Linked DNA regions of Homo sapiens: regions 1, 2 and 4 are each linked to region 3. The links are contacts of gene promoters, found by promoter capture Hi-C in blood cells and fetal thymus (Javierre and others, 2016). All regions are on one chromosome and are shown on one strand. The core of a region is centred on a gene start or on the middle of the fragment in contact, and the rest is flanking DNA. Distances in the headings are between cores, read along the strand shown. Region 1 has its middle 30 kb from the start of DNASE2B. Region 2 has its middle 15 kb from the start of SAMD13. Region 3 holds the start of SSX2IP (SSX family member 2 interacting protein). Region 4 overlaps PRKACB (protein kinase cAMP-activated catalytic subunit beta).

Region 1 (4,501 bases), core at 562-3,061, 260 kb before region 3:
CCTTTGTAGATAGGGAAGCCACCAGTTTGCTAGGTCTGCAGTATCCTAATCTAATCCCAAGATCCTATCTCTTCCATTCACCACTGTTTTTATTCATTTCCTGTAATATCAGGAAGTTTCTGGTGGTTTGGCAGGAAAGCTAGCCACAGAAGACAATCTTTTCAATATACCTGGACTGTCTTAAGCTTCCCCTATGTTCGAATTATCACTGTATGGCTGAGAGGTGTTTAAAGCAGAATTGAAGGAGGCTGAGGCGGGCAGATCACGAGGTCAGGAGATCGAGGCCATCCTGGCTAACACAGTGAAACCTCGTCTCTACTAAAAAATACAAAAAATTAGCTGGACGTGGTGGTGGGCACCTGTAGTCCCACCTACTCAGGAGGCTGAGGCAGGAGAACGGCATGAACCCGGAGGCAGAGCTTGCAGTGAGCCGAGACCGCAACACTGCACTCCAGCCTGGGCAACAGAACAAGACTCCATCTCAAAAAAAAAAAAAAAAAAAAAAAAAAACAGAATTGAAGGAGAGGTATAATTTAAATGGTTATCCTAAATAATAGATTGATATCAATGTCATATATCTACAACCTTCTGGAAAGGGGACTGCTTCCTTTTGTTTTCATTTTGGGTGAAAAGATTGCTGATTCATGAGTGGGCTGTGAGCTCTGACTTTAGAGATAGAGCTGGTCTCGGCCACTCTGGATCAGCCAAATGATGAGCGAGAGGTAAGGGGCAAAGGAAGAAAATGGCAATCCCACACTTTGATGTATGAGCCAGGGAGGTAGTTTTTCCTCCCAGAGGTGTTAGACAAAGATTTTAACAATGGGACAATTTGTCTCTGGGGTAGCTGGTCCTAGAGAGCAGGAAAAGGAGCTATAAAAATCCAGCTACTTTTGCCACAGGCAAAATAATTTGTCCCCACCATCAGAAAAACAAAAACAAAACACTGGTCAGATTTCATGACTAATTTACTGTAATATCCAGTAGCTCACGACCATATGCAGATAAGGGTTTAACCAGTCTCCTGATGACTCAGGTCTACACACCTCTGTGAGATGGAGCAGTGTCTGGTGACCAAGGAGAGACTGGTACATGCTGCAAGCCAGTTGTTTCCCTATATCCAAAAAGTCAGACTTGCAGCCAACCTCAGTCCATTCCTCGGCCCAGTAGGAACGGAGGCAGGCCAGTCCAACCATCTTCCCATCAGGGCTCTGCAAAAAGACACCCGAGTGGCTGAACAAGTTGTCCCTGTGTCTGTGTCTGCACTTTAGGAATGGCTGCAGCTGCTCTTTGGTCTTCACTCAGCAGGTTTATACAGAGTGAAGGCAACATATAAGAAGCAGGAAGTCTTAAGCCAAGGCAGGAGGATGGTTTGAGCCCAGGAGTTTAAGATCAGCCTGGGCAACATAGTGAGACCTTGTCTCTACAAAAAAAAAACCAAAAAATTTTAAACCAGCTGGGTATGGTGGTGCATGCCTGTAGTTCCAGTTACTTGGGAGGTTAAGGCAGGACTGGAGTCCAGGTCATTGAGGCTACAGTGAGCCATGATCACGCCATTGTACTCCCATCTTGGGCGACAAAGCACAGTTCTGTCTCAAAAAAAAAAAAAAAAAAAAAAAACAGAAAAAGAAAAAGCAGCAGGATGCCTTGGCAAACAATGACAACAGCAGAGAAGTGACAAATGACAGGGTGGAAAGACAGAAGAACTCTTAACAGCACAGCTGTCTGGAGCCATTTAACATTGGGTGAACGGCCCTGTGGACCTTAGTGGCTCCTGAGGGCATGGCAGTATTACAGAATTGAACAATGATTGATGTTCAAAGTGAGTCATCGAGAAAAGGTCAAATTGTGTTCCGAATATTTCATTTAAGAAGGCAACATACTACGTAAAACATTTTGGAAAAATCACTTTCTAAAATAAAATTTTTAAATTGGCATTTAAGTTTAGGTTATAATATGTTGACAATTAATAGTACCACCACTTAATATATTAGATAGACTACATTATTAAAAATCCCCATCCAGAAAGAATTGATTTTTACTTATATGTTCTTATTGATATATAAGTATATTATACACACATATATACATTCACACATGCACACATGGCCACACAGTGTGTATTTTTTAATCGAATCTCACCACTGGTTATTTTATTAAATAGATCTCATATCTTCCTACTTCTTCCAGGACTTGACACCATTATTTATCTCCTCCCACTTCTTCGGCCACTTGCTCTTTATTAGATCTTTCTCTTTACCACATAAACATGTTCAAGGCTCTCCCACCTTGAAAAGAAAACAAACAAAAAACCTGCCTGGGTTCTATAGCACCACACCCTATCCTAGAACTGACCTATACCTCTCTTTCCCTTCACAATCAAACTTGTAGGAAAAGCTCTCAATCTTGTGGCCACCTCTCCAATGACTCTTGTCTTGCTAATTTCCAGTGCTTTAAAAAAAGAAAAAAAAAGATTTGTTTGTATCCTTTGCCCATTGGCCTGTGTCCCTTTCTTAAGCCAGACTCTCCTCCACATCCCTGAGATTCTGCTTTACCTTATTTTATTTCTTCCTCTGACTTACCTGGGTCTCCTTTCAAGTTTCTCTTTCTCTGTCTGAACTCTAAATGTCAATACTTCTCTAGGTTTTATCTTTGGATCTCTTCTCACTTGAAATATTTTCCCTGGGCAATCTTATCCACTATCATGATGGCACCCATATTATATTTCTGACAAAGTTCTCACTGGGGGTGTGTGTGTCTGCATGCACATGCATGTGGATGTGAAAAACCGTGTAGTAAATACCTCCACCTAGATGACACTGAAAACATACCATATCCATGACTCCTATCTGCTCATCAGAACAGCCCCTCCTTGAGTTTCCCTTTCTGGGAACCATTAATCCAGTAACCCTGCTTTGGAGACATATGGACTTTTTTTTTCATTCATTCATTCATTCATTCATCCAAACAATCACCACCACCGCTTGATTGTGCCTCGTTAACATCTCAAATCTATTCCCTCCAGCTTGCCTCCTATGTGCTGCTTTATCTGTGTTTTGAATCAGGAAATGTCTTTAGTCTCCACCTTCATGCATCAGTTCTCTTTGATTCCTGGACGTTTTGCCTCTGCTTCTTTGCTCCTCTTTGGTATTTGAGACTTGGTTACCCAGCTCTCCCAATCTGCCTCACTACCACTCTTTTGGAACTCTGGAAGATTTACTCTCACTCACAGTCTAGGCCACAAGGCCTGGTCCTGGTGTACAGTCCAAGGACCACTTCTCCTCTATTCTTACCAATGCCCCTCCCTCAATAAGGACAAGAGAAACAGGAAAATTTCTCCCAACTGAGGACAGCCCCCTACAAACCATCACTCAACCATAAATAATTATTAGTCTATATTGGAAGTGTTGGTTCTTTTGTTGGCCTCTGCCTTATGCTCTAAAGCTTTTGTCTATTGGCTTTAATATCCAGATCATCTATGAGTCTGCTTCTATTGCCTGCCTTTTCTCTTTATTACTGGCCACATTTTATTGCCTTGTCCCATATCTACTAGTTTTTTATTATGTGTCAGACATAGGGTATAAAAAAATGTGAAGATTCCAAATGCTATCTTCTACAGAGAGGGTTCTCCCTTTCCTCTGTTAGGCAGAGAGGGTAAGGAGTTGGTCCTTTTGATTACATGAGAAATTGATACAACGAGAAACTGTGTTGAGTGTGAGCTGCATTTTTATTAAGACTTTCTCTACCTCTAATTTGCTCCTATTCTAGAGCATGTTCCTTCTGGGCTTGTGATTGTGAGCCCTGGAGTCTTCATCTCCTCAGCCCTGAAAGACTGCAGGAGATCCAGCTCTGTCCTTCAGAAGTTCCAGCCTAGATCTTTAGCCCTCTGTCCCTCATAGCTTCAATACTTGGCAAATGTCTTAAGAAAAAACTGGAGGTGTATGTAAGGGAAGGTCTCCAGGGGACCTGTTTCCTAAGCATCACAAGACAATGAGAGATAGATTTCACTCTTTTAAAAGTTCTTGCCCTAGTTTCATATCCCTCTGTGCAGTACCAGAATTCAGCAAATATGTTACGGGAAAATCAGTCATGTGTTTGAGTTGCCTTCTTCCTATTTGTCACGTCATCCCTTTATAACTGTCAAGAACTTTACTGGTTTTTCTTTGTCCCAGCAGAGATTCTCTGTGTAGGCAAATCCTTCAACCCACACTCAGGATTGGCATATATCTGGTGAAAAAATATAAGATAGTGTCAGCTCACTTTGGCAAGGATTCTACTCTATCTGGAATTTTGGTTCATCTAATCCACATGCTTCCACAGAAACTTGATGCCTTTAAAACATAATTTTTTTTTTTTTTGAGACTGAGTCTCACTCTGTCGCCCAGGCTGGAGTGCAGTGGCACTATCTCGGCTCACTGCAAGCTCCGCCTCCCGGGTTCACGCCATTCTCCTGCCTCAGCCTCCCGAGTAGCTGGGACTACATTTATCCAGGTTACCCCAAGTT
Region 2 (4,720 bases), core at 920-3,419, 400 kb before region 3:
CTTCTACAAAAAACTTCATTATTTTAATTCAGAAGGTTTATGATTCTTTCTAATGCTCAGAGACCTGCCCCTCTTTCCATATTTCTAGACTGCTGCTGTATTTTGGAGAATGTCCAAAAGTTTGACCTTTGGATAAAGGGATGAGGCTGTACAAATTTTGCTTCTTAATACCATCTGCCTAGGAATAAAAACCTCTAGATAGGAAGAAATAAAGGAAGGAAGAAAAGAAGACAACTTTTGGAAAAATCTGTAAATCTAAGAGGGCATGGAATACAGGACATATCCTGTATTCCAGTGATGACTTTTCAATGACTAGCGGTGGTTTCCACAGAGAATTCGGTTTCCTTATCCATACTTTGCTATAAATCTTGGCATATCAACTACCTAAAATTATCATGCATTTCTAACCGATTTATAGCTAATAATATATGTCACTCCAATTCTTATAGTAAGTATAGGTATCACCCATTTTGTAAACTTTCTAAACTAAATCATCTCAGTAATGTTCATTTATTACATATGATAAAACAGATCCCACACTGAGGAAGAAGAAAAGAAAGAAGAAGAAGAAGGAGGGGAAGGAGGGGAAGGAGAAGAAGGAGAAGAAGTCAGAAGAAGAAGAAGGAGGAGGAGGAAGAGGAGGAGGAGGAAGAAGAGGAAGAAGAAGAAGAAGAAGAGGAAGAAGAAGCAGCAGCAATAACCCTGGACTTGTTTTAAAGTATACACTTGGCCCTTCCCCACATGTAGTGTGATGACTAACAGCCCAAGTGTGAACCTCAGGTGTCCCAATGTTCTCAAGGATGTCAACCTTAGCAATATTTGCAGGTTTAAAATTTAAAGCATATGGATCTATCCTCAATATCAGCACATAAAACTTACTTTAGTCACTTATCAAACTTTCTACTGTCCAGCACATACCAAATCTTGATTGAGAGAGCTAACATTTATAAAACATTGTTGACTGAAATGCAGTTTATCTGTATTAGTTTCCTAAGGCTGCTGTAATAAAGTACCACAAACTGGGTGGCTTAAAACAACAGAAATTTATTCTCTCCCAGTCTGAAGGCCAGAATTCTGAAATAAAGGGGCTGGCAGGGCAGCACTCCCTCTGAAGCTTCTCGAGGAAGATCTCTCCTTGCCTCTTCCAGCTTCTTGTAGCCCCTGGTCTTCCTTTCCTTGTGGCAGCACAACTTCAATTCCTGCTTCTGTCTTCCCTCTGTGTCTCTCTGTCTTCACATGGCATTCTTTTATTTATCTCTCCTTTTTTACAAGGACACCAGTCTTGCTGGATTAGTGTCCACCCTACTCCAATATGGACTAATTTTAACTAATTACATATGTTATGACTCTATTTCCAAATAAGGTCACGTTCTGAGGTTCTGGGGGTTATATCTTTTTGAGGAAAATGATTCAATCCATTAACACTATCTGTTCTTCCAGAGATATTTTATCTTCCAAATAAGCCTGGATCCTACTGTCTTAGAAATACAGGAATTGACTTTCTCTGGGCTGTGTTTTGATGCCATGTTTTCACCTTTTACCAAGCAGAGCAAGAAGAAATGACTTAATGAATGGAACTATTGAATTCACTAAATAAAATTCACTAAGAATCATGCCTAATTTGATTTTTTTTTAGAAGTAAGTGTTAAATTTTTCCCCCTGAATAACTGTTAGGTTTTCTTTTAGAGTCAATGAGAATCATATATCTAATTACACGTTTCTTCTTGATTTGGTTGTCAGGAAGCTTAAACATCTCACTGTAAGTTAATTTTAATAACTTTGTAGGATGCTACAGCTACATATCTTCATTTTTTTCTTCTCCTCTTGTGTTGGTATTTTCTTTCTGATGTTAGTTTTTTAAATTGCTTTTTATATTATTACAATTCCCTCCCAATGCTTTGTGGAAAAAAGTGGGTAATAAGTAGGAAAAAAAAAAAGTATGAATCTCTTCCTGAGTCTCTTCCTCATTCATAGCAAATTTTCCTCCTGACCCAGCTCATCCATCACTGAGTGACTAACCAAACATTATAAGCCATCAACATTAGTGCTCCAGCTTACATTATAAGTGGATGATTCAAACACTACTCAGGTAAACAGAGGGAAAAGCAGGAAAATCACTCCCTTTATTCTTAAGCAAATCAACTAGATCTCATCGACTTCCTTCAAAGAGTTTAGGTAGTTTTTTTTTTTAATCTAGAAAAAAAAAATCACAGAACCCATGCAACAGTAAAAATAAGAGAAATCTAGAAAAGCAGAGGAATCAAATGAGAAGAAATTAAATAACTGAAAATCACATTAAAAGTACCAAGGAAGAGAATTTAAACGGCAGAAAATTGGACATGAAGAGGAAGCTATTGAAGAAAATAATCACATGGAATTTGGTGGAAAATGACATGGAATGAAGGTGATCAGAAAGAAGATGAAAGTTGTAGACCATGGACAATGGAGAACTAAAACATGAGTGACTTTTATCTTTGAAGATGTGAATGAGCAAATGGAAATGAAAAATTACACAATAGAAGAATGTTATGAACTAAAGTAAGTTTTCAAATTGAATTTTGAAAAGGCTCACCATATTCCAATCAAATTTAATAAAAGCTTTCTTTCTAGAACTTTAAGGACTAAAAGAAATAGAATCCTATAGTCATCTAGGCAGAAGGAAAAAGGTCATCTTCATAAACAAAGGAATCAGGCATATTCTAAGCAATGTTAAATGTTAGAAGAAAATGGAGCAATGGCTAACAAACATAGGAAGAAAAAACATTCCATATCTGTTGCAGGAAGTCAGGGACCCTGAATGAAGGGACCAGCTGAAGCCATGGCAGAAGAACATAAACTGTGAAGATTTCATGGACATTTATTCATTCTCCAAATTAATACTTTTATAATTTCTTATGCCTGTCTTTACTGCAATCGCTGAACATAAATTGTGAAGATTTCTTGGACATTTATCACTTCCCCAGTCAATACTCTTATAATTTCCTAGGCCTGTCTTTATTTTAATCTCTTAATGCTGTCATCTTCGTAAACTGAGGATGTATGTCGCCTCAGGATCCTGTGATGATTGCGTTATCTGCACAAATTGTTTGTAGAGCATGTGTGTTTGAACAATATGAAATCTGGGCATCCAAAAGGACCAGCATGGCTGCGATTTTCAGGGAACAAGGGAGATAACCACTGGGCCTGACTGCCTGCTGGGCCAGACAGAACAGAGTCATATTTCTCTTCTTACAAAAGTGAATAGGAGAAATATGTCTGAATTCTTTCTCTCAGCAAGGAACAGCTCTGAGAAAGAGAATGCATTCCTAGGGGGAGGTCTCTAAAATGGCCACTCTGGGAGTGTCTGTCTTATACAGTTGTAGATAAGGGATGAAATAAGCCCCGGTCTCCTGCAGTGCCCTCAGGCTTATTAGGATTAGGAAATTCCTGCCTAGTAAATTTTAGTCAGACCAGTTGTCTGCTCTCAAAACTTGTCTCCTGATAAGATGTTATCAATGACAATGCGTGCCCAGTGGGACATGAAACTTCATCAGCAATTCTAATTTCTCCCTGGTCCTGTGATCTCACTCTGCCCCCATTTGCCTTGTGATATTTTATTGCCCTTGAAGCATGTGATCTCTGTGACCCATACTCTATTTGTACCCCGCTCCCCTTTTGAAATCCATAATAAAAACTTGCTGGTTTTTTGGCTTGGGGGCATCACGGAACCTGATGACCTGTGATGTAACCCCCGGACACCCAGCTTTAAAATTTCTCTCTTTTGTGCTCTTTCCCTTTATTTCTTAGACCGGCCGACACTTAGGGAAAATAGAAAAGAACCTACATTGAAATATTGGGGGCTGGTTCCCCCGATACTTATCTGGTCTAACCACCTTCATGTGTAATCATGACAGAAATAAATTCTCAAATATGCAAGAATTCAAGAAAAATAGCATTTATGCACCTCTGAAAAATCTGTCAGGAAAAAAAATTAAGACAATAAACAGATAAGTAACCATAAAATAAAATTCATGAATGAGAAAGTCATGATGTACAAAAGGTTAAGCCGTGAGCTTTAAGTCTACTACACATATTTAAGTAATTGGCATTTTAAGTCATAAAATTAAATATAGTTGTTTTAATACTAAAAAAATACATAATATAAATCATAATATTTTGATGACAATAGACTGGAACAAGAATCATATTTGCTTTCCAAACTAAGAGGTGGGAAGAGAAAAGAGAGAAGTTAAGTAGACTGATTTCATCATTTCATCATCATTGCATTTCTAAAGTTAATTGAAAAATAAAAATGTAAGCATATTATTTAAAACAGACTTTACAACTCCCCAATTGCTAGAGTGTGGCAGGTAGCCTTCTTAAACAGCTCCCAATTGTCCCCACTTCCTGGCATTCATGCCTTTGTGTTAGTCTAGACCTAATGACTTGCCCTTACCAAAAAGAATGTGGCAAAAGTGATAGGATTTCCCTTCTGAAGTTGGGCTATAGAAGGCTAGGACTTCTGTCTTGCTTACACTCTTACTCTGACTTTTCCCCACATATCACTTGTTTTGATAAAGCCAGCTGCCATGTTGTGAGCTACCCTATGGAGAAGCCCATGTGACAAAAACTGAGGACTTCAGTTGAGCAGCCCATAAGGAACCAAATCCTGCCTCCAACCATATAGGTAAGAAAGCAGATCCTCCCCAAATCTAGCCTTCAGGAGAGAAGAGCCCTGTCC
Region 3 (4,634 bases), core at 1,527-4,026:
CACTCAAATTACTGATTTTGGTGGAAATATCCTTCTAAAGTAAAAATAAAATATAATTCCCCTTCATAAAACCTTCTGAAGGTTCCCTGTAACCTACTGGTCAATGTTCACAGCACTGTTCTACAGCCTTATTAATATGGCAACCCCACCCTGGTCCAACTCTACCAAGCCACCTGTAACTCAACTGTACACTGCTGCAGAATGCACCAGCTGCTTGATGAACTCCACTGCCTCTACCAGACACAGCTGAAATTCTCCTTCTTTTTGAAAGCCTTCCTATATTTGTTTTTTGTGAGGTTTTTTTGCTTCCTGCCTCACTATGCTGATAATTTCTAAAATACAAATTCCTCAAGGCAACACTCATCTTTTTATCCTCAGGTCAGGCAAGTAGCAGCTTACTAAGCGTTTAATGAATGTTTATTGAAAGAATTACTAAAGAATAATTCAGTAAATCTGCTGGTACTACATAAAACATTGGCCCACAATCAAAAGGCACAATTCTAGGATGTTTTTCATTACTACTAATGAATGGTGCATTTCTCTATTCTATCTCATCCCATAAACTCGTGAATTCAAGATAACTTGTACCTTCACTACTAGCTAACCATATCACCATTACCAAAGCCACAAAACAAACCCACATCGTATCAAAACCTCTTTGCGTCATGAGCAAATGGTGAAACCAGTAAGGCATATTCACAGCTATTGTAAAAGATATGGAAAAAATAACTTAAAAATCTTTGAAATCGATCCAATTTAAGCATGTTAAATGAATTAAAATCACACAATTTGGGGGCGGTGTCTTTTCATGCACCTAATTTCTCTAGGGGTATACTACATAAAAGGCACTCAAACGCCTACTTTATAAAACCGGTGTCACGGCCTGCTTTGGCCAAAAAGCAGACTGTCAAGTACTAGGAGATCCCAAGTATACAATTGGACACTGTGCTGGACTTGAGGTCTTTAGCAAACAATTTCAGCGTAACATTTTAGTTTTCTCATATATCTGCCTCATTATGTTTAGAACATAATGTGCTTTAACAAGTCTTGTCACAAGGCACAATGTGTTATGAGATCTCCACATTTCATCCTAGAATAACTAAGTCTTCACAGTTATCTTCAAGCTGCCTCACCCATGTTACGTAATCCATGAGCTTTTTATCTTCCCTGTACAGTTGGGGAAAGAGAAGGGAAGGAAGAGTACAAAATGACTTGGCCTAAGAGGTTCAGCCAGTCACTAAAAGAGCCTTCGTTTTAATTATCAGTTCCTAACCCTCTTCTCAAAGAACCGTTTTGTTTGAGAAACCTTCATTAACAGCAGGCAGAACAGAGTGTTAAATTAGCTATTAGCTTTCCTTACTTGTTTAGTGTGAATGAATAACCTAAGCTTCCTAAGCCTGTAGGTTGATAGTTTTAGGATAAGAGATCTGATGGATCAAGTTTTGCCGACTGGATCCAAATTCATAAATCTACCTCTAACTTCTAAATTTCAAAATAGCTTGACGTGAACTTTAAAGGCATTTCTTTCCTCTCCAAATTTCTAATTCTTTACAAATTTTATTCACTCTCCTAAATGAGTCAACTCATACCAACCTTTCTAGTTCAGGATCAAACTGTAGGATCACCAGAATTTTCTTCTACCCCACAGTAAGCCAAACCCCCATGAACCATGAAAAGGTCCATGACATCCATCACCCACAGCTAACTCTACACCTTGACTCTAATCTGAATTGTTAGAAAGCCCAGGAAGTTCAAGAAGCCTCCACCCTTACACTTCTAAATCACCTTCTTTTCTAATCCTCAACCTATTACAGCGTCCAGAAAAGAGAAATCTCAATTCTCTCAGATTCAAGAACTTTATCAGCGTTGCTAGTAATCGCAGTTTGGCATTTACAACTATGGGTCCTGAAACTGGGTAATAATCTAAAAATTCCTACATTATACGTGCAGACAGCAAATTAGTATATTCTATGTCCTGGGCCCAAGCGATATGCCTAACTGGGCAATCAGCATAGGCTCAAAAAATGTGCAGGGAGCTCACAATTCAGTTTACTGTCGTTGACTATAAAATTCTAAACCAAAGTATTTTCATGATAAAATTATAAACCAAAGTATTTTCACACATGCCTGCCTCTTGGATGATGTAAATTCTTCCCCTAGACTTTTTACTAGACCACTATCGGGGTTCTCTTCCACTGCAGCGGCCACCCAATAACTCGTTTTAAAGACTGCCTCTTGCGGCTGCACTAGCAAATCGCCAAACCCCGCATGCCCCACGGCCGCTGCTGAGACTCTGCAGCCCCAAATCGGCCATCCCCTCCTCCCCCACGTCCCCGCGCTGCTCGTCCCCCAACGCCGGGCGCCAACCTTGCTCCATCCCAGAGAGGGTTTGGGGCTCCCCGGGTCAGAGCGCTCCGCAGGCGCAGCTCCGCGAACGCCAGCGAGAGCGGTCCCGGGGCCAGCACCTACCTCCCACCTCCTCCTCCAGGAGCGGCCCGGGTCGACGCTCGCCCGCACCCTGCAACGGCCCCAACAGCCGCGCGGAGCCTCCCGCCGAACAACGGGGCGCTGAGCCAGGTGCCGGCTCTCACCTCCGCGCGCGCCCGCCCCTTGCCGGCGCCCACCCCCGCCCGCCCCTCCCTGGCGGGGCGCGTCACAATCCCCGACGCGAGGCGCTGCTGCTCACCGTCACGGCCCCCGGGAGCGGCGGGGAGTCACCGCTCGGCGTCCTAGCCCGGCTCCCGCAGCCCGAGGGCCAGCAGCGCCTCGCAGCGCCTCCCGCCCGCGGCCCCTCCTCCGCTGCGGGCTCCCGCCTTCCCCGCCCCTTGCAGCCGCCTCCCGGCCTCCGCAGGTTTCCGAGGTTCCCACCCCGCCCCCGCGCGCCGGCGCCGCAGGCCCCGCCGCCTCCCATTGGCTCCGCCAGTTGCTAGGCGATGAACAACCGTGGCCTGCATTGGTCGGGTGGGGGCCTCGGTAGTCTCCTCCTTACCTCCAAAAAAACCCGGAGAAAAAGAAGACCTTATCCCTGCGGTCCGCGCGCGCTGCGGGCGCAGCTGCGGCTGCGGCACCTGTTACGCCCAGTGATTCACCCGGCCGTTTTCTGCTCCCCGCCCCCTTCTGACGCCTGCAGCGTCCGGGGCCGGGGCTCTGTGGGGGCCGGGACTCTGCAGGGACCGGGGTCGTGGCTACTTTAGAGCACGTTTTCCGAGCCCCACTGAACCCCAACACCCAGCCTAGCAGCAAAAGTGAAGCTTCCAGGAGAGCCACGTGCGTTTGCCAAAGTGGAGAAATAAACTGCGGGCACCTAGAATTAGGTCAGGTCCAAGGAACGGGAGGTTCAAGCGTCGGGAGTCGTGGATGCAAACAATCCAGCCGGGAGAAAGTTATATGTAAAATTAGGGCGAAGAAATGGATCTGGGCAGAAGACCGCGGGCAAAGGAAAGACTAAGAAATAGCATTCGTGAACTCAGTTTATGCAAAAATGTCTTACACCCACTCGACAAAGTATGTGCGATGAAAATGTATGCCTGCTGCACCCGTGGCCAGGGTCAGGCTGTCTCCTCCCTGGTTTCATGGCAGCCTAAAATTCACTGGGGAAGAAAAGAAAAGAGGCCAGAGAAAGGAGATCAGATGGAGAAATCACAGGCATATAGGTTACACAAAGATGTTCTTTGATTTTTGTTTTGTTTAGTTTTGGTGAAGCCAAGGGATTTATTCAAAAGGCGAAAAACAGGTTTGGTGTTTTAAGGAGACTCCTGAGAGCACTTTGAAACCAAAACAGTATGAGTGAAGATGCTAACACTGAAAAACAAGAGCGGGAGGAATGTCCACCTCCCAGTTTGCATGCACGTATCCCCAATCCTGGATGAAAGATCAGGGCCAGAAGAAGCACGCCACGGTGACAACTTCAGGGCCCAACGAAATCCTCCTCTTTTCCTTTGGCCAAGCAATCAGAGGCCCGTCTAGCTGCTGTTGAGCCCAGGTGGCGTTACCATTAACAGTTACATTTTTAAAAGGTTTGAACCAAGCTTAGTTGAGCTCTGGGAAGTTTAGCTCTGACCTCAGCAACCCCGGGAAAGGAATAAGATCTGCCTGAATAAACCAGCGGTCTCAATCTTTTGGTCTCAAGACCGCTTTCCACTTGTAAAATTATTGAGAGCCCCAAGAACTTTTCTTTATGTTGGTTACAGCTATTAATATTAAAACAGAAATTTAAAAATTGCTATTTTTTAAAATAATAATGAATAAAAATAAAAATGTCAAATAGCGCATTTTAATTAAAAATAACTATTTTCAAAAAATTAGTTAAAAGAATGGTGTTACTTTAAAATTTTGCCCATATCTTTAATGTCTTGCTTAATAGAAGGCATTTGGATTTTCATATCTGTTTGTGCATTCGATCTGTTGTGCTATTTCAGGTAGCGTCTGGAAAACTCTACTGTGCACTCATAATGAGAGGGAAAAAGGCAAATAATATCTTAGTATTATAACAAAAATAGTTTTGACTTTGCAGACTCCCTGGAAGGGTCTTGGAAACTTGCCGCCCCAAGGTTCAGCAGATCTTTGAAAACCACTGGTCTAAACCTCTTTGTACTCTGTCCCTCTTTGTTAACCAATAACTGGTTAAGGGGCTA
Region 4 (4,293 bases), core at 1,026-3,525, 490 kb before region 3:
AAGAATTGAATCATTTCAGTCTCTTAAGAAAAAAAGGGCAGTTTTATAAAGAAATTAACAAAACAGTAAAGCAATTTCTGTATTTAGTATTTTTATCACAAAGAACAGGATCATAGCCATAATTCTCGATATTCCTTCAAATAAATAAAAATAGTTTATTATTTCATGTGTCTATCTTCATGGAGAAAAGTTTTAGGGGCTGTTTTATATGCCCTTCCATTTTCAGGAGAGACTTCTTGTTTTAATTATGTCCAATACTATAACATTGGAAGTAAAAGTAAATATAAAATGAATAAGCCTTTTTCAGATGGAAATTTATAGAATTGATTTTAACAGAATTGTTCATATAGATTGTGATTATACTTGTCATTGGTTTTTAGCAAACATGGAAATAACATTAATTTTTCTTCAACATGAGTAGACTTACTGTGTTGTAGTATTTTACATTTTGTAAATTTCTTCATAAACCTTCCTTCTTTTGCACTTATAACCTCTAATTTGCTTTCAAGAGTGTTTTGTTTAGGGTCAGTCATTTGCTGTTGCCTTAGCTCAGACCTCGGATCTTTTTTTAAAAGACCATTGTCAATTCAATAGAAATGAGCTTGAATTTCCTACCATGCAGCAATGAAAGAATAGGCTTTTAAACATTCCCAGAAGGAGACCTTCTATACATTAATGACAAAATATATGGGAAGGGATATTTTGCTTATTTTCCCTTCTTTCTATTTCTACATGTGGTACTGCTTTGTCTTTTCTTTTCTTTCCCACATAGTCCCATTTAGAATATGATCAGGAAATAGAGCATCAATCTTTATCACATTAGCCTGAGATGTTATAGAGTTGAGGTTTTTTTGTTTTATTTTTTATTTGTTTGCTTTGTATTTTGTGACCTTCTTAGGCAGAGATAAGCCGGAAGGAGATAGTAGAGGGAAGGTCTTTATTTCTTTGTATCTCAGCCATATTCAAGCTCTACATTTAGTGTGAAAGCTTACCCTTGGCATCTATCAACTTACAATTTCCATTGTTAACTATTCACAAGGTACCCTGAATGTCTCTAATGTGGTAATTTATTTTTTTTGCCAACACTCAAATTTAAATCATAGATGCTGCACAGCTGGGCTGTAGCAACAAGACATTTGCCAATAGAATTAGTCTATCCAATCACCTAGAACATACATTTCAGCACAGTATTGTTCCCTATCTCATAGTACATATGCACTCTACCTGGGTCATGAGATTTTCCCTTGTATTTTGCCACGTTTTATGTAGAAAGTTTTATTTATTATCAGTATTCACAAATTAGGAGACTGACTAAAGAATTTATACTCCAACTATGTCAAAGGTAAAAAAATAAATACCTCTTACAGATAAATAAACCTAGCTAGGTGTTGAATGCTGTGCACTGATAAAGGCAATACAGAAAAGCAGAATGCAGTACTTATTTAAACAAGTATCAGTATCACTGCTGTTCTTCTTACATTTGTAGATCTCTGGCTTCAGACTTCTTATCTTTGTAATTGTTTTCTCCCAGCAGAACTTTTGATATGAACAAAACAAAACTTTGAGAAAAATTAACAGACAAGGCAGTGATTTATTTTTGAAGAATTTGAGAAGTGTAGACTCTCAAGAGGACTAAAGGTCATATGAAGAATGATGAGAGAACCAAAATACATTAAAATCACAAATGGAAGAAGAATATTTTACTAATACAAAAACTAAGAATGTAAATGTTATAATAATTGTTTCAAATCATTTAATTGACAGTAATTATAAAGTTCTTGAATCTTTACTATATTACTTTTATTTATATTCATATAAGAAATCCAATTTTCTAACAAGGATACTGTCATAACTAAATTTACATTTATTAAGAAAAACTGCTTTAGTTAAAATTAATGTGTCTTCATTTTTATGCATTGGCCTCGATTTGCCAATCATTCTCTATTGGTTAAATTTTATATTCAGCTGTTTATGAATATATATTCATTTTATATCAAACTTTAAAATTTTGTATCTAATAATCAGCATATATTCTAAAATCATAACAGTCTAAATCCTGGGCACCTTAGAAGAATGACACCAGAAAACCTTATTATATCACAATATTCTGTTTTCCCCTTCATTTATTTAGAAATATGACAGGATATTTGGTGTACTTTTGTTTTTTAACTAAAAGTACCAGATTATCTCTCCCCATGTGGGATATAAAATTATCCCCATCTCTTACTCCCTTTACTCATCTAAAGTAGAAGTCATGAAAGTGGAATTTTTGCCATTAAAAGGCTCTGTATTATGTGAAGTTAGATTGTATTAACCATTTCCCAATAAATCATCTGTTTCAAAACTCAAATTCAAACTAGAATGTGTCTCTATTCACATTGCAAAAATATTATTGTCTCTCTGGTTAGTGGCTAAAAGCCAAATTGGAAACTAACTAGTTTTTTAAATTTTTTAAATTGTGCAAATTATTAAAAATCCAATTTGGTCTTATATTTGTGGATCCTTATATTTATATTTGCATTTGAACTTTTAATGGTTTTAATGATATATCATTTAAGAATATGCTTTTCATTCAGAATTGTTTTTGTTGATTTTAGAAGCATATTATTTTATGAAACAGCATCTTATATTGATTATATCCACCATTCTGAAGTCACGTTATAAAGATTATAGGTATCAATGACTTATCAAAGTTAAATTTATTAATTAAGTGATAAATTCACTAAAGTACATATATATGAATATTAGATTGTAAAATACTTTCTCTATTACAATATTTTAACTCAAGCTGGTATTTTTAAATGCACACAAAGATGATCAATCAACTTGTTAGATTCTCTCCTACACATATTTTGCCTTTAAAAAAACAGAGGAGGTGGTATTTAAATGTCACATTATTCATGCAATGTTAAGGTTTGAGTCTACAAATTCATAGTTGAAAGAAAAGATTTATGATTCCTGCATTAACTATGCCTCATCCTAACAATACATATGCTGAGTTTCTGTATGTAGTCTTTAAATTTCATGTCTCAGTGTCATGTACTCCATGACAAGAATCAGTTATGGTCTCTATAGCACCTTTGTCTGGCTGCGTTACCCATGGAAATATAGAAAGTTTATATTGCAGTCAAAAATTATACTTGCAAATAAGGTACTCAAGTAACAGCTACTATGGAAACCATAACTTTAGAGCCCTTGGCTTATGTAATTTAAAAAAATTCTTAGCTTCAACATATCTAATGTAAATATTGTTCCACTCCTAATGAGTAACAATATATAAGGAGACATGCAACATAGAGAAGTATAAACATAAGTATATACTGAATGATCAAAGAGTTGGTTAATTTTTCCTGAAGGGAAATTCAATATTTACATGAAGGGTAATTGATTATCAGCCCAATTGCTATTCCTTTCTGTCTCAGGAGTCCCCAAGACTGTCTCCAGGTTTGATGATTCACCAGGAGGACTCAACAAGATTCAGCATACAGTGGTACTTGAGGCTAAGATTTATTACAACAAAAGGGTACAAAGTGAAGATAGCAAAAGTCCAGAAGACACCAGGCACAAGCTTTCAAGAGTCCTCTCCCAGGGCATTCACAAGGGATGCACATAATTCCTTCAGCAACAAGCTGTGACAAGCGTGAAATTTTATCTACCAGCAACACTCATTAAATACTCAATGCCCAAAGTTTTCATTGGGGGTTGGTCACATATGCACCCTCTGCCTAGCACATGCCAAAATCCCAGCCTCCCAGAACAAAAGTAGTTGTTCAGAATAAACTATGTTGTTTGTACCAACAGTGTAGGCACAGTGAGCCACTCTAATCCTTTAGGGAAAGTTTCATGTTGGTATAAGGGCACTGGTACTATTCAAGTTGCCAGACATCTCTCAAGGGCCAAACTTGTAAGCAGTTCTTTCTAAGGGTAGCAGTCTCAGGCCTACTATGTTAAGTCTTTTCTACACACATTCGGTTTCCTAAATAACATACACATATGCAGATATTCCACTATACTTTTTCTAAGATACTATTGTTAATGCTTTTGGGGAAATTACAATGTCATTTACTATTTTGCTATGGCCATAGTTAAAGAGACTTAGAAGTATTCAGAAATCATTTTCATAAAACACAAAAGCAGTTTTACTCTTTTCATAAAACCCAGGGCCAGTTTTAAACACTTCACTGTGGCTATTTAAAATTCTTATTAATACCTTCTTTCTGACAGCTCTTGTGGTCCTATGAGCAAATAATTGCAAAACTGGCTTCTTATGTGAGAGCAGGGGGAGGGAGAATG

What was found. Contacts are between HindIII fragments. The CHiCAGO score rates a contact against its expected background, and 5 or more counts as called.
Region 1: a contact is called between a fragment that was not itself captured here and the fragment with the promoter of SSX2IP in region 3, in 1 of 17 cell types (monocytes). The highest score is 5.6, in monocytes.
Region 2: a contact is called between a fragment that was not itself captured here and the fragment with the promoter of SSX2IP in region 3, in 2 of 17 cell types (erythroblasts and fetal thymus). The highest score is 5.9, in erythroblasts.
Region 4: a contact is called between a fragment that was not itself captured here and the fragment with the promoter of SSX2IP in region 3, in 1 of 17 cell types (total CD4 T cells). The highest score is 5.9, in total CD4 T cells.

Annotation. Positions count from the first base shown.
Region 1 is chr1:84,426,685-84,431,185 of GRCh38, forward strand. No RefSeq gene overlaps it. Among named protein-coding and RNA genes, the nearest start is that of DNASE2B, 30 kb to the left of the region's middle. The HindIII fragment of the contact is 3,256 bases long and covers 184-3,439 here.
Region 2 is chr1:84,284,245-84,288,964 of GRCh38, forward strand. No RefSeq gene overlaps it. Among named protein-coding and RNA genes, the nearest start is that of SAMD13, 15 kb to the right of the region's middle. RefSeq lists a silencer at 3,289-3,489. The HindIII fragment of the contact is 854 bases long and covers 1,743-2,596 here.
Region 3 is chr1:84,687,685-84,692,318 of GRCh38, forward strand. It overlaps SSX2IP (SSX family member 2 interacting protein), which reads right to left and starts at 2,777. Exons shown (of 14, transcript NM_001166293.2): 1 at 2,687-2,777. RefSeq lists a silencer at 2,229-2,988. The HindIII fragment of the contact is 1,864 bases long and covers 1,386-3,249 here.
Region 4 is chr1:84,202,948-84,207,240 of GRCh38, forward strand. All of the region lies in intron 8 of PRKACB (protein kinase cAMP-activated catalytic subunit beta), which reads left to right. Among named protein-coding and RNA genes, the nearest start is that of PRKACB, 61 kb to the left of the region's middle. The HindIII fragment of the contact is 2,581 bases long and covers 986-3,566 here.